3 separate regions of the Homo sapiens genome follow, and regions 2 and 3 are each linked to region 1. Evidence: promoter capture Hi-C in human tissues and cell types (Jung and others, 2019). All regions are on one chromosome and are shown on one strand. The core of a region is centred on a gene start or on the middle of the fragment in contact, and the rest is flanking DNA. Distances in the headings are between cores, read along the strand shown.

What was found. Contacts are between HindIII fragments. The study calls those that stand out against the background at their distance.
Region 2: a contact is called between a fragment that was not itself captured here and the fragment with the promoter of MAP2 in region 1, in 1 of the 25 tissues and cell types used here (hippocampus).
Region 3: a fragment that was not itself captured here is called in contact with the fragment with the promoter of MAP2 in region 1 in 1 of the 25 tissues and cell types used here (hippocampus).

Annotation. Positions count from the first base shown.
Region 1 is chr2:209,422,007-209,425,644 of GRCh38, reverse strand. It overlaps MAP2 (microtubule associated protein 2), which reads right to left and starts at 1,598. Exons shown (of 16, transcript NM_001375505.1): 1 at 1,369-1,598. RefSeq lists a silencer at 1,528-1,917. The HindIII fragment of the contact is 7,301 bases long and covers 1-3,638 here.
Region 2 is chr2:209,680,569-209,684,299 of GRCh38, reverse strand. MAP2 (microtubule associated protein 2) reads right to left here. Exons shown (of 16, transcript NM_001375505.1): 7 at 3,473-3,550. Among named protein-coding and RNA genes, the nearest start is that of UNC80, 89 kb to the left of the region's middle. The HindIII fragment of the contact is 3,730 bases long and covers 11-3,731 here.
Region 3 is chr2:209,697,576-209,701,346 of GRCh38, reverse strand. It overlaps MAP2 (microtubule associated protein 2), which reads right to left. Exons shown (of 16, transcript NM_001375505.1): 11 at 1,009-1,070. Among named protein-coding and RNA genes, the nearest start is that of UNC80, 72 kb to the left of the region's middle. The HindIII fragment of the contact is 5,822 bases long and covers 1-3,771 here.

The sequences.
Region 1 (3,638 bases), core at 349-2,848:
GTGGCTGCAAACCTCAATTTCAGTTTGCAATCATTTCCTTTTCTAGACTGATCATTTTAAAATAAATTATACCTTTAACATTTAAATTAGTTCCTTACCAACAGTCATCAATCCCTTTGCCTCACACCCAAAATTATATACCACCCAACAATATTTTTTTGTTTTGCACTACAGATTTTATTCACAACATAATTTCCAAACCCTCAAATACAATTTTAAAAAATCAGTCTCTTAAGTACCTATTTCCTTTTGTAACATGTATATAGTGTATTATACATTTGTGTGCATACTTGTGTGTTTAGGCATTTAAACAAAAACCCTTTACACCGGACTCAATTTTAAAGCGTCTATGTCCTGGAAGCATTGTGCTAAGAGCTTACGACAGATGGCACACAGCAATTGTCACAAACGGGCTTGTTGCTAATGAAAGCTTTTTATTTTCTGACAAAAATCCTGAAGTCCGGATGCCAGGCAGAATAACATTAATTTCCAGTTTTCAAGGATTTTTTTTCTGACTCCATCCATACCCCTCCCCCTATACACACCCAAATATACAGCTCCCCACTCCTAGCCCCCCACACACTCTTTCTTGAAATTTCCATCCTTAAACAAAAGACGAGGTGGGGGAAGGCAGGCAGCCAGCACTGCAGTCCTCCTCTCCCCACCAAAAAAGCCTTTTAAAAAGAAAAGGAAGAAAAGAATAGATGCACTGTAGATTCAGAGGTCCACCCCCAACGTTTAAAAAGAAAAACGACTGTGTGGAAGCCTAACCAGACTCATTTCTTCGTGCCCCGCCCTCCAACACCACCAGGCATTTATTTTTCATTTTCCTACAATTATAAATATCAGTCCTCCTCTCCCAGCTGTTTCTGAAGGAATTACAGAGAAACATGATTTGAAATGGACAAGGCTTCCCTCACTCACTCACTTCCCAGTGTGCAGTTCTCTGCAGCTGGATGAACAAAAAAATCCCCTACCTCGATTTCCTATTTTCCACTATCTTTGTAGAATCCACTCCCCTTCTTTCCACAGCGCAGGTAATACTGGCTTTCGATACACGTATTCTAACCTGGCGTAAGTTTTCAGTTGTTTCAAAGTGGTACCTAACAAGCTCACTCGCTCTTCTACGAAGCCAGGGCTCAGGTACCAGTAGCGTCCGGCCCCCTGCTCCGCAGTGACACCTGGAGAGGACAGGCCCGAATCTTCCGCCAGGTGCACGGCTGGCCACTCGACCAACTACCAGACTGCCTGCTGCGAGTCCCAGAGGACGAGACACAACCCCTCCCCATTCCTATCTCTTTCTACTCAGAGACCGAGGCAAAAGGAGAGGCGCCCTACATAGAGCCAGAGGTGGGGACGGTCTCTTACCTGGGCGCAGAAACTGGATGCACCCGCGGTCGCGACTGCCACCGCTCACGGACTTAGCGCCCTCCGGAGAAAAAGGAGAGGGGTAGAAGGGTTAGGGGAAGAAGGGGAGGGGGGGGAAAAAGAAGGAGAAGGAAGAGAAAGAAGCGGAAGGGAAGTAAAGGAAGAGAGGATGCTGCTGCTGCTGCTGCTGCTGCCCAGAGCCCGCGCAGCCCGAGCGCCCGCCCCAGACTGAGAGCGGCGCCCCCAGCCGGCTCCCAGCGCAGCAGCTCCGCCTCGGCCCCTCCTCCCCGCCCCGCGCAGGTCCCGCCCCGCGCAGGTCCCGCCAGACTCCGCGAGCCCGTGGGCGGCCGCGGCGGGGCTGGCGCTGCCACCGCCGCAGTGTCCGGGAGGGGGAGCACGACCGCTTCGCCTTCTGCCGCAGCCGCCGGCCGCCAGGCGGGGACCGCGAGGTGGGAGCCTCGGAGAGCCCCGCCCAGCCGCTGGCCCGGGCCTTCTCCAGAGCCCTGGTCCCCTCCCGCGACAAAGTGAGGCCAGTGCCCGGGCGGCGGGACAGGCGGGCCTTCCTCACTGGCGTCCTTGGAAAATCGGGGGCAACAGCTTTAGTCTCTCGGGAGCAACCTCCGCAGACCCCCTGCTTCCCTCCCCTGTGTCGCTATGAGGCGGGGTTGCCAGTGGCACCTCACCAGGAAAGCTCACTGGCCTCGCCTCACAAACCCAACCACAGGTGCATCCAGAAAAGACAAAGGAATGTGGGGCGCTTGAGAACATAGAACAACTCTTGTCAGCACTAAAGGAGCAATGGCTGAGGGAGTAGAGAATTCTAGACCCAGCTCTGTCACGAATTAGATTCATTCATTTATTGAGTCAACGAATGTTTATTGACACCTACTATGTGTCAGGCACTCTTCTAAGCATTAGAAACATCAGTGACAGACCTTTCCCACAACCCTAATAAGAAAGATCCCCTCCCTTTATAGTTATTACATTCTAGATAGCCAGACGTATGCTCTAGAGACAGTTCACTTAATCTAACTCTCAGTGTATTCATGTGTCATATGAGAACTAAAAATGACAGCCCAATTCTCTTATGCTTAAAAAGATAATGAATATGAAGGATCTTTGAAGAATGATACAAATACAATGAATTAGAAAGCACGGAAAGTGTTGACCTTGAAATATCACCCTTAAAAAAATTGCCTCTTAAATGCTTTTGAAAGTGAAATGACCACCTGAGAAAACAAATGATTCTTTACCATTCGTACTAAGGAGTATGAATCTTCATAATCAGAGAGCAGCATTTTATTGTAAGTAAGAAAAGTAAGATGCAACTTAGAATTACTTCGAGTGTCTATATCAAGTACTGACAAGGTGTTTTTAAGGTCAGCCAACATACTGAGGTGTGGCTTGTACAGTCTTCACAGTGCTGATGAAACAGCAGCCATAATGTGGTTCTGTCACTTAAATTAACCACAGAATCTTAGAACCTAGAACATTAGAGTTGATGTTTTAGGCAGCTGGTCTAATTTCCTCCATTTTCAGATGGAAAGAGACCCAATGGTGGGAGCCTGCAAGGATTAGAAACCATCACAGAGGAAGCTGTGAAAGCCTGCCCTCCCCAGTCACACCCAGTGCTCTGTGTCCTGCCTCCCCCGCTCTGCTTCATACCATGTGCCAGTGACGCTTGCAGTGAGTTTGGAAGTATCAAGGCACACCCAGGAGCTGGGAGGTTGGAGGAGTTGATGCTCCTCCTCGGAAGATGGCCTTACTGAGAAGGAGGTCTTAGGAGACTAGGAAATCATAGACAGTATGTGGATGGGAGGAAGGAGTAGGCATGCTACCAGAGTGTTAGCAGCTGACATTCATGACCAGGCATGCAGGCGCAGGTGCTCAATGAGAGTAATTTTCCAGGGCCAGGAGCGGTGGCTCACACCTGTAATCCCAGCAGCTCAGGAGGGAGTATCGCTTGAAGCCAGAAGTTTGAGGGTGCAGTGAGTTATGATTACACCACTGCACTCCAGCCTGGGTGACAGAGTGAGACCCTGTCTCTAAAAAACAGCAATAAAAAAGACATTATTTCTCTGATAGTTTAAAGTACAGTGTTCCTCAGCACTTTTTGTTTTTGTTTGTTTGTTTGTTTGTTTGTTTTTTCCTCCACTTTAAGATTAGCTGAGGCAGCCAAACTCTAATGGCTTTTCTCTTTGGGGAACCTGGTCCTTATATGGGAGATTGCCTCCTCTCGACACACATCTTAGAGTTCTTTCAGAAAAATA
Region 2 (3,731 bases), core at 626-3,125, 260 kb before region 1:
GGTCACCACATCCATGACACAGGAAAACACCACCCTAGAATTCTGGAGCAAACCTAAAAGGGCAGAAAGAATCCTGGTTCTGTGTTCAGATTATTCCATTCCTTCACAGCCTTCCAAATTCTAATAGCTCAGTCCAAATGACAACTATTATGATTAGGCCAAAAAGAAAAAGGAGGTTAATTTGAAAACATCATAATCAGTACAGGTTTGGTTTACTGTACCGTAGATCCTTTTCTAAGTGTGCAGCTTGTTTCCTTTTTTTTCATCAAAATCCCTTGTAAATGTTTTCTAGAATAAGCACATATCCTGGGAATTACTAATATTACATTAATTATAATAAATATTCATAAATTATAGTAATTAACATCTTAAATTTTTAGTGGAAGCTTTCATGCTTCCCCTTTGGGAAAGAACAGCTTTAAAAAGTTTGATAATTAACAAAAAGAAAATGTATCCTCAAAATCGCTGAATTAATCTAACAAAAGAGCTTTCTTCCATTTGTATAAAAGGATCAGACTGCAGCAGTCACTATACCCTCAGATTAAAGTTGCTTTGAGGGTATCAAGGAGGGTAAATAATCCCCTAGATAAGGCAAAAAAATCCACCTGCTCCCTTTCCACCTGACCTGCTATAAGCAATATATTGATGGAATTTGGGCTGAGTATTTACAAACTACTTGGTTTGAAAAATTGAACAGTTCAATCCTGTCTTGTGACTTGTCACTAATTTATTTTCTGACAAAACTAAACTTAAAAAATACTTGTATATTACTTAAGTGTGGCTTAACATAAAAGAGAAACAGTAGTTTGTCTAGACCACAAATCTTTTACATATTTAAGGTGAGAATATTATCTGGTCTTTATAGAGATAGAGTTTATAAAATATATACATCTGTTTTTCTTAAAACTCAAAAAATGGTTATACTTTTAAAATCAAATAATCAGAACTTCAGATAGTTCAATACTCAAAAAGTTAAAAACACAAGTTTGGCTTGAAAATAACTTTGAATTACTTTCAATAAGAGGTTAGGTGGTATTTTCCTTGAATATCTTGAAACAGCTTGAAGAAAGTAATTCCAAAATATTAGGGAACTCTGGAAAGTTGACACCTAAGTTACCAAAATGTGAAGGTGATTCTACATTTTATTTATTTATGTTTTCATTATATCCATCATATTACCCTACAGGAAGCAGGCTGGGTGAATTCCCAGATGGATGGGAGGACTCTGCTTCTTCCCTTTCTGTTCCAAATCCCATATAGAGTAAGAAGATTAAATGACTTGACCTCAAGCCGACTTTTGGAGTAAACCTGCTCTGTCAACATCATATCCCTCTCTGGGTTAAGAGGATTCTCTGATGCTTGAAAAGCTTTAAGTAGGAGCTTAGAAACATTTTCCATGGCCTGAAGGAGGTACAAGGGTCATGTCAGGCTTCCCGCTGCATTCAGAATGAAATCTAGGCCACTGACCCCAGCTGACCACTGCTTACTCTCACACTCCACTGCTCTACCCTTTCTCACTACCCATCAGCCACGGACCCCCTTCAGTTCCTGGGTCACTTCATCTTCTTGGGCACCTGAGCGCCCTTGTGCTTTTTTCTATCTTTATTTGGCCAACACTTCCTCCTCATGCTTCTGGTCTCAGCTACTTAGCCATCCCCTCACCACCCAATAAAATCAGGTTTCTCTTGTAATATTTTAAAGCTCCCTATTCTTTTCCTCTTCAATGCTAATCCAATTTGAAATTATTGGTAAGCTTATTTATTGGATTTCTGTTCTCCACTAGATAGTGTACTATTTATTTATTTATTTTGAGATGGAGTCTCGCTATGTCACCAGGCTACAGTGTAATGGTGCCATCTTGGCTCGCTGCAACCTCCGCCTTCTGGGTTCAAGTGATTCTCCTGCCTCAGCCTCCCGAGTAGCTGGGATTATAGGCGTACGCCACCATGCCTGGCTAATTTTTGTATTTTTAGTAGAGACGGGTTTTCACCATGTTGGCCAGGCTGATCTTGAACTCCTGACCTCAAGTGATCTGCCCGCCTCGGCCTCCCAAAGTGCTGGGATTACCGGCTATAGTGTACTCTTTAAAAGCAGGGATCATGTCTGTTTTGTTCACTAGTATATACTCAGAATTTGAAGAGTACCTGGAAGACTGTAGGGCTCAATAAATATGTGCCCAGTGAATGGATAAACATAAGGTCAAAAGGAACTTTTCAAACCTATAAATTAAAAGATTAAATCACATTAACTAATAATCAGTGGCTGCTATGCACTGATTATTATCCCCAAAGTTTCTTTTATTCCTCAGAAAAATTTAGTTTGTTTATTATTTCAGGCAGTAAATTGGAAAAAAAAAGCTTCAATTTAAGAAAGAAAAACCTTGCTAAAATAAATTTAGGTTTATAAATCTGTGACAAAATAAAATTATATTAGAGGTGATAATATATGGTTCACTAATTCAAATTTTTGTATTTACGAAATCAAAGAATATTTTAAATGAACCTAATTACAAATGATAAAAAGACAAGTCTTTTAAAATAAATGTTCTTCAGTCTTTAACACAGTAAAAAGGAAAAATAAATGAATAAATGAATAAAATAAACACTTTTAAAATTCTGGTTTTAATATATGAAAACTAAGTAATGTTGAAACAACAATGGAGCCCTAGTTCTTCTCTGCCTTTTCCTGTGACTCTCAAACAATAAACAAAGGTTAACTGGACTAAGTCGGAGAACCAGTAATGGTTTCCTTTTAAGTAGTGCCTTTCATCTCAGATTCTGAATGAAAATTCTTCAAAGGCATCTTTCTGTTGTATCAATGAGAATTGAAAAGCTAACATGACATTCCATGTTGAGTAAGTTCATAAAAAGATCCATGGACAATAACAGGTCTCAACAGGAAAGAGTCATGAGCTCAGCTTCCAGTTCAATGCTCTCAATATCAGATTCATTCATTAACTTCTTCATTTATTCATTAATATTTATTAAATTTGCTATGAGTCAGGCCCTGGGGAAGGTCTTGGCAATATAACAGTGAGCAAAACAGAGATAATTCCTGACACTTTCATAAGGAAGTGTTGATTTCATTGATAAATCTGACCCCTACTATTATGGAGATTACATTTATATTTATTTTAATTTTTGTTCAGTCACTTACAAGGTAGAATTGTATCTTCCCTGTTAAAGCATTCTAAAGTGAATGGGGTCTCTACAGTTATTTTAGCAACTGAACACAAAATTCTTTTCCTTAATCAAGCAGATTTCTTTTTTATTTACCAAATTCCTCTACTTTTGCTTTTATAAAAATAAGTGATTATTTATTTAAAGTCTTTGTTTCTTCTTCATTATTTGAAACAGATAGCTCCAAAGCTTGGTCACATACTAACCAATACCAAAGTCCAGAGCTTATTGATTGAAGTTTATTGTTCACACTTTAACAGAAGACAAACCCTGAAAAGTCCAATAGGCCTTACCTTCCTCCACTGTGACAGTCTGTTCTGAGGCAGGTGATGGGGGTGGAGAAGGAGGCAGATTAGCTGTTTCTTCAGCTGCTAAAGATCAAACAATAGAAAAATGAGATGCAATAATTAATCCTTTTAGGCTGGTAGATGTGTAGGAAGTTCTGCCATTTGTAAAAAGACCTCTCTATAAAATTCAGAAAAAGATTCAATAGTAAGCCGCATTTGGTTTATTTATAGGCCCATTACCTGATTCATGCATTTTTGAAAACCT
Region 3 (3,771 bases), core at 265-2,764, 280 kb before region 1:
AAAAGATTTACAAACATATGAAGAAGTTAAACACCATTAATACAACCAAAATAAAATTTTAAAATAATAATATATGCCATCTCTATAATTTGGCAAATATACAACAACAATATAAAATATGTAGTAATAATAACAAATATGAACACTCTCCTTATACAGAATGTATAAGTGGGTAGAACCTTTCCAGAGGGCAATTTGACAATATGCAGCAAAAACTTTAAATATTAACATTTTTCTTGAAACAATAATTTCACTAGTAGAAAATGAAGGAAATAGCATACAAACTGAACTTAGCCAAAAAGTTCTCTACAGTAATATTGTTAAAATACCAACAAAAAATTCTAAAAGTCAAATAATAGGAAATTGATTAAGTATATCATTGCAAAGAAATAAAATGCAGTATTACGTAGTCATTAAAACTTACAAAATGTTCAACGACATGGAAGTACATTTACTGTTGAATTTAAAAAGTGATACACAGTGTTCTCATTTTTGTTGTTAAGCCTATAAATGTATAGAAAAAAATTAGGATTTTACATCAAAATGATAGCTGTGTTTATCTTTATGATAAGAGGATTATAATTGATTTCTACTTCTTTCTGCTTGTGTGCAGTGCTTCATTTGGTCATATTTCTATTTTGTAACAAAAACAATGAAAGTGTATTATAAAATACAGTTACTGTTGATTATATGGTTTAATTTGATTCTATGAAAAGTAACTAAACTGGACTTCCTTACTTTTGCCATATCATTGTGCTGCTTTCTATGTTTTTGTCTTACTAGTAAGGAAGCAGTCCAGCTGTGCCCTCACCAATTACCATCATACGCCATCCCAGAAGACGTTCATCCTTCCATGCCTGGATGCCACGGAGAATCTTCTGGGTGAGCGAACTATTTAAAGTGACTTTTAAGAGTAAATATCTAAACAATATCAAAAGTTATTCTGATGTTACAGCTAATACCAAAGGAACTTCAAATGAAGAACAAGGAAAAACTTATTTTACTCACAGAGACTTTGTCCTTTGCCTGTTTAAATACACTGGGAGCCAGAGCTGATTCCCCACCTGCTGCTGTTGAAAATAAAAGACAAACAACCCCAAACTTAGTTGCTAAAAAGTCATAAATGCAGTTTTAAATACCTGTAGGATATTCTGTTGTGTCAACAGACTAATGCAAAGCAAAAGTTTGCTTATTATGAGACTCAAATTCAATAACTCAAGTAACATGAATAACAATAACATAGCATGTGGCTCCAACAAATAGTGTGTGCTAATTAATATAACCCATTGTCTACCAAAGTGCAGGTAAGCACACCACGTAATTTTTCTATTGATTACCAATGTATCTTTGAATCACTAGTACGTAAGGAGATCCTTTAGAACAGAAGTTACAGAATAGCAATGTGAATGTTGCAAAATTTAAGAAAAAGAACACTGATTGGTTTCTGGGGTTCACATGATATATAGAAGAGGGTTCATAGAGATTTCCAAACCCTCTTCTTGTTCTGGAAGCCACTGGCATAACCATAGATATTTCGGTATTTTACATTTCAAACTGTCATGATCAGCTAACCCCTTTCCCTTTGTATCCCTTCATTTCACAATATGAATGACATACTTGTTTGATGTGAAAATGCCACATGAGAAGGGAAGAAAAATAGCTTGTCAAGAACAGAAAACACGAGAGAAAATTTAAGTTCAGTAAATACAGAACATGTTCTACACATGCACTTCCTGTATGAAATTATTACCACATCTGTTACTGTTGTTTCTCTTGCTGCTGTTTTATGCTTCTGGATTCAATTTTAAACTCCATTATCTCTAGCACATTTTGGTTGATGACTTACCTGAGGTAGCTTAGCTCTCATGATTTAAAACAATCCCTTGTGGTTTGGAAAACCATCTATGTTTGAAAATTGGGCTTAGAAGATAAAATAATCAAGCTTGTGTGTTTATTCCTCCTTAATTTTCATTCATAAAATAGAAACCCTCAGAAAAAAAATGTATCCTTATAAGCCCTCTGAATAAGTTCTAAAAAGGTATTTTTATGACAGGTACAGTTCTGACACAAACATAATAACTGTCTACAATATGCTTTATGCCATGTAGGACTAGCTAGTGAGATTTTTCAGATTCTAGGACTCATTGTTTTTAAGGAAGCAGTGAAAACGATGCCTTACTACTATCTCTGTAATATAACTCAAATTCTTGTGACATGTATAGCTTGCTTCAAACCAATGACACCTACATCTGATACATGCTTTCTCCTAAAGTATCTTAACATTAGACCAGAATAAAGGAAAATCTTCATTAGTTCAAAGATTTTAAATTTCTTTCAAAGAATGAATAAAAACACAATTTACTTTAAATGTGGCAAATTGAATACCAATGACATGTAAACACTTTACTAAACCATTTTACGTTTTCTCTAAAATTCCACAATCCTGATGACATCTTTCATCCTTTTAGGTAGGTTATAGAGTTTTTATGCTAAATCAAGAGATTCTGCTTGCCCAAGCAATTTTGCTACTAAGTTTAATGAAGCTATTAATTTGCTATTAAGTTTAATGAAGTTCTAAGTTTAATGAAGCTAAAAACCTGAGAAAATGAATTGAGGTATGTCACGTTAATTCCTAACTCCTAGCTTCAGATATATTCTTCATCCTGAAGCTTTATCAAGGTGTGCGTATATACAAGCCTTCTATTTTCAAATCCTGCCTTAGATTCTTGTTTTTGAAGGAAAGCACATGATATGATTTCTAGATGAAGAACACAAATACAAAATACTTGGAATTTTCAATGGCTAAAATAAAACCATCAGTTACCTTGATTTTCTCTTTCTCACAAAGGCTAATGTTCCTCTTAACCTTTAAAACCATCCGAAGATTTATATAGAGGCATTGATGATGTACAATGGAAAGAAAAACATTCTTTTCTGATTTAGCAATCTGTCATTTTGTAGACTACAAGCATGCCACTTAATAAATGCTAAAATAAAATATAGTGTAAGGTAAGATTATCCTAGTATAATTAAACATATAAAATAAATACTTTGCCCTGAAATTTAGAAAAAAGTTGGCATTACAGATATTTGTAGGGGTTTTTATGATGGTTTCCAACAAGTTTCATTCCTTTGTTTTACCAGTTTTATAAACTTAGGAAAAAATATGTATTTGAAGAAGAGTAATAAGTAGATAGCAGGCCGGGTGCAGTGGCTCATGCCTGTAATCCCAGCACTTTGGGAGGCTGAGGCAGGTGGATCACGAGGTCAGGAGTTCAAAACCAGCCTGGCCAAGATGGTGAAACCCCGTCTCTACTAAAAATACAAAAAAAAAAAAAATTAGCTGGGTGCACGCCTGTAATCCCAGCTACTCCGGAGGCTGAGGCAGAAGAACTGCTTGAACCCAGGAGGTGGAGGTTTCAGTGAGCCGAGGTCGTGCCACTGCACTCCAGCCTGGGCGACAGAGCGAGATTCCGTCTTGGGAAACAAAAAAAAAGTAGACAGCAAAGTAAAAATAAACCGAAGTTTATTTCTAACTGAAGTTCCTCCTAAAAGGAAGAGTTTTAGCTTCAAATTTGTGAAACTAAATTATATAGAAAAGTCGAGCAGTTTGGATCCAACATATTTAAGAAATCTCCATGACAAAATGTCAGCTAAGAGATGTAGTTCAGTAGAGTGAAAATCTTGTTAATTTTGGATATGAGGAATAAAATCTGATATAATTACCAGAAAATTTTGTTTTCTATCTTCTTTTTTTCAGCAAAAGCAAAG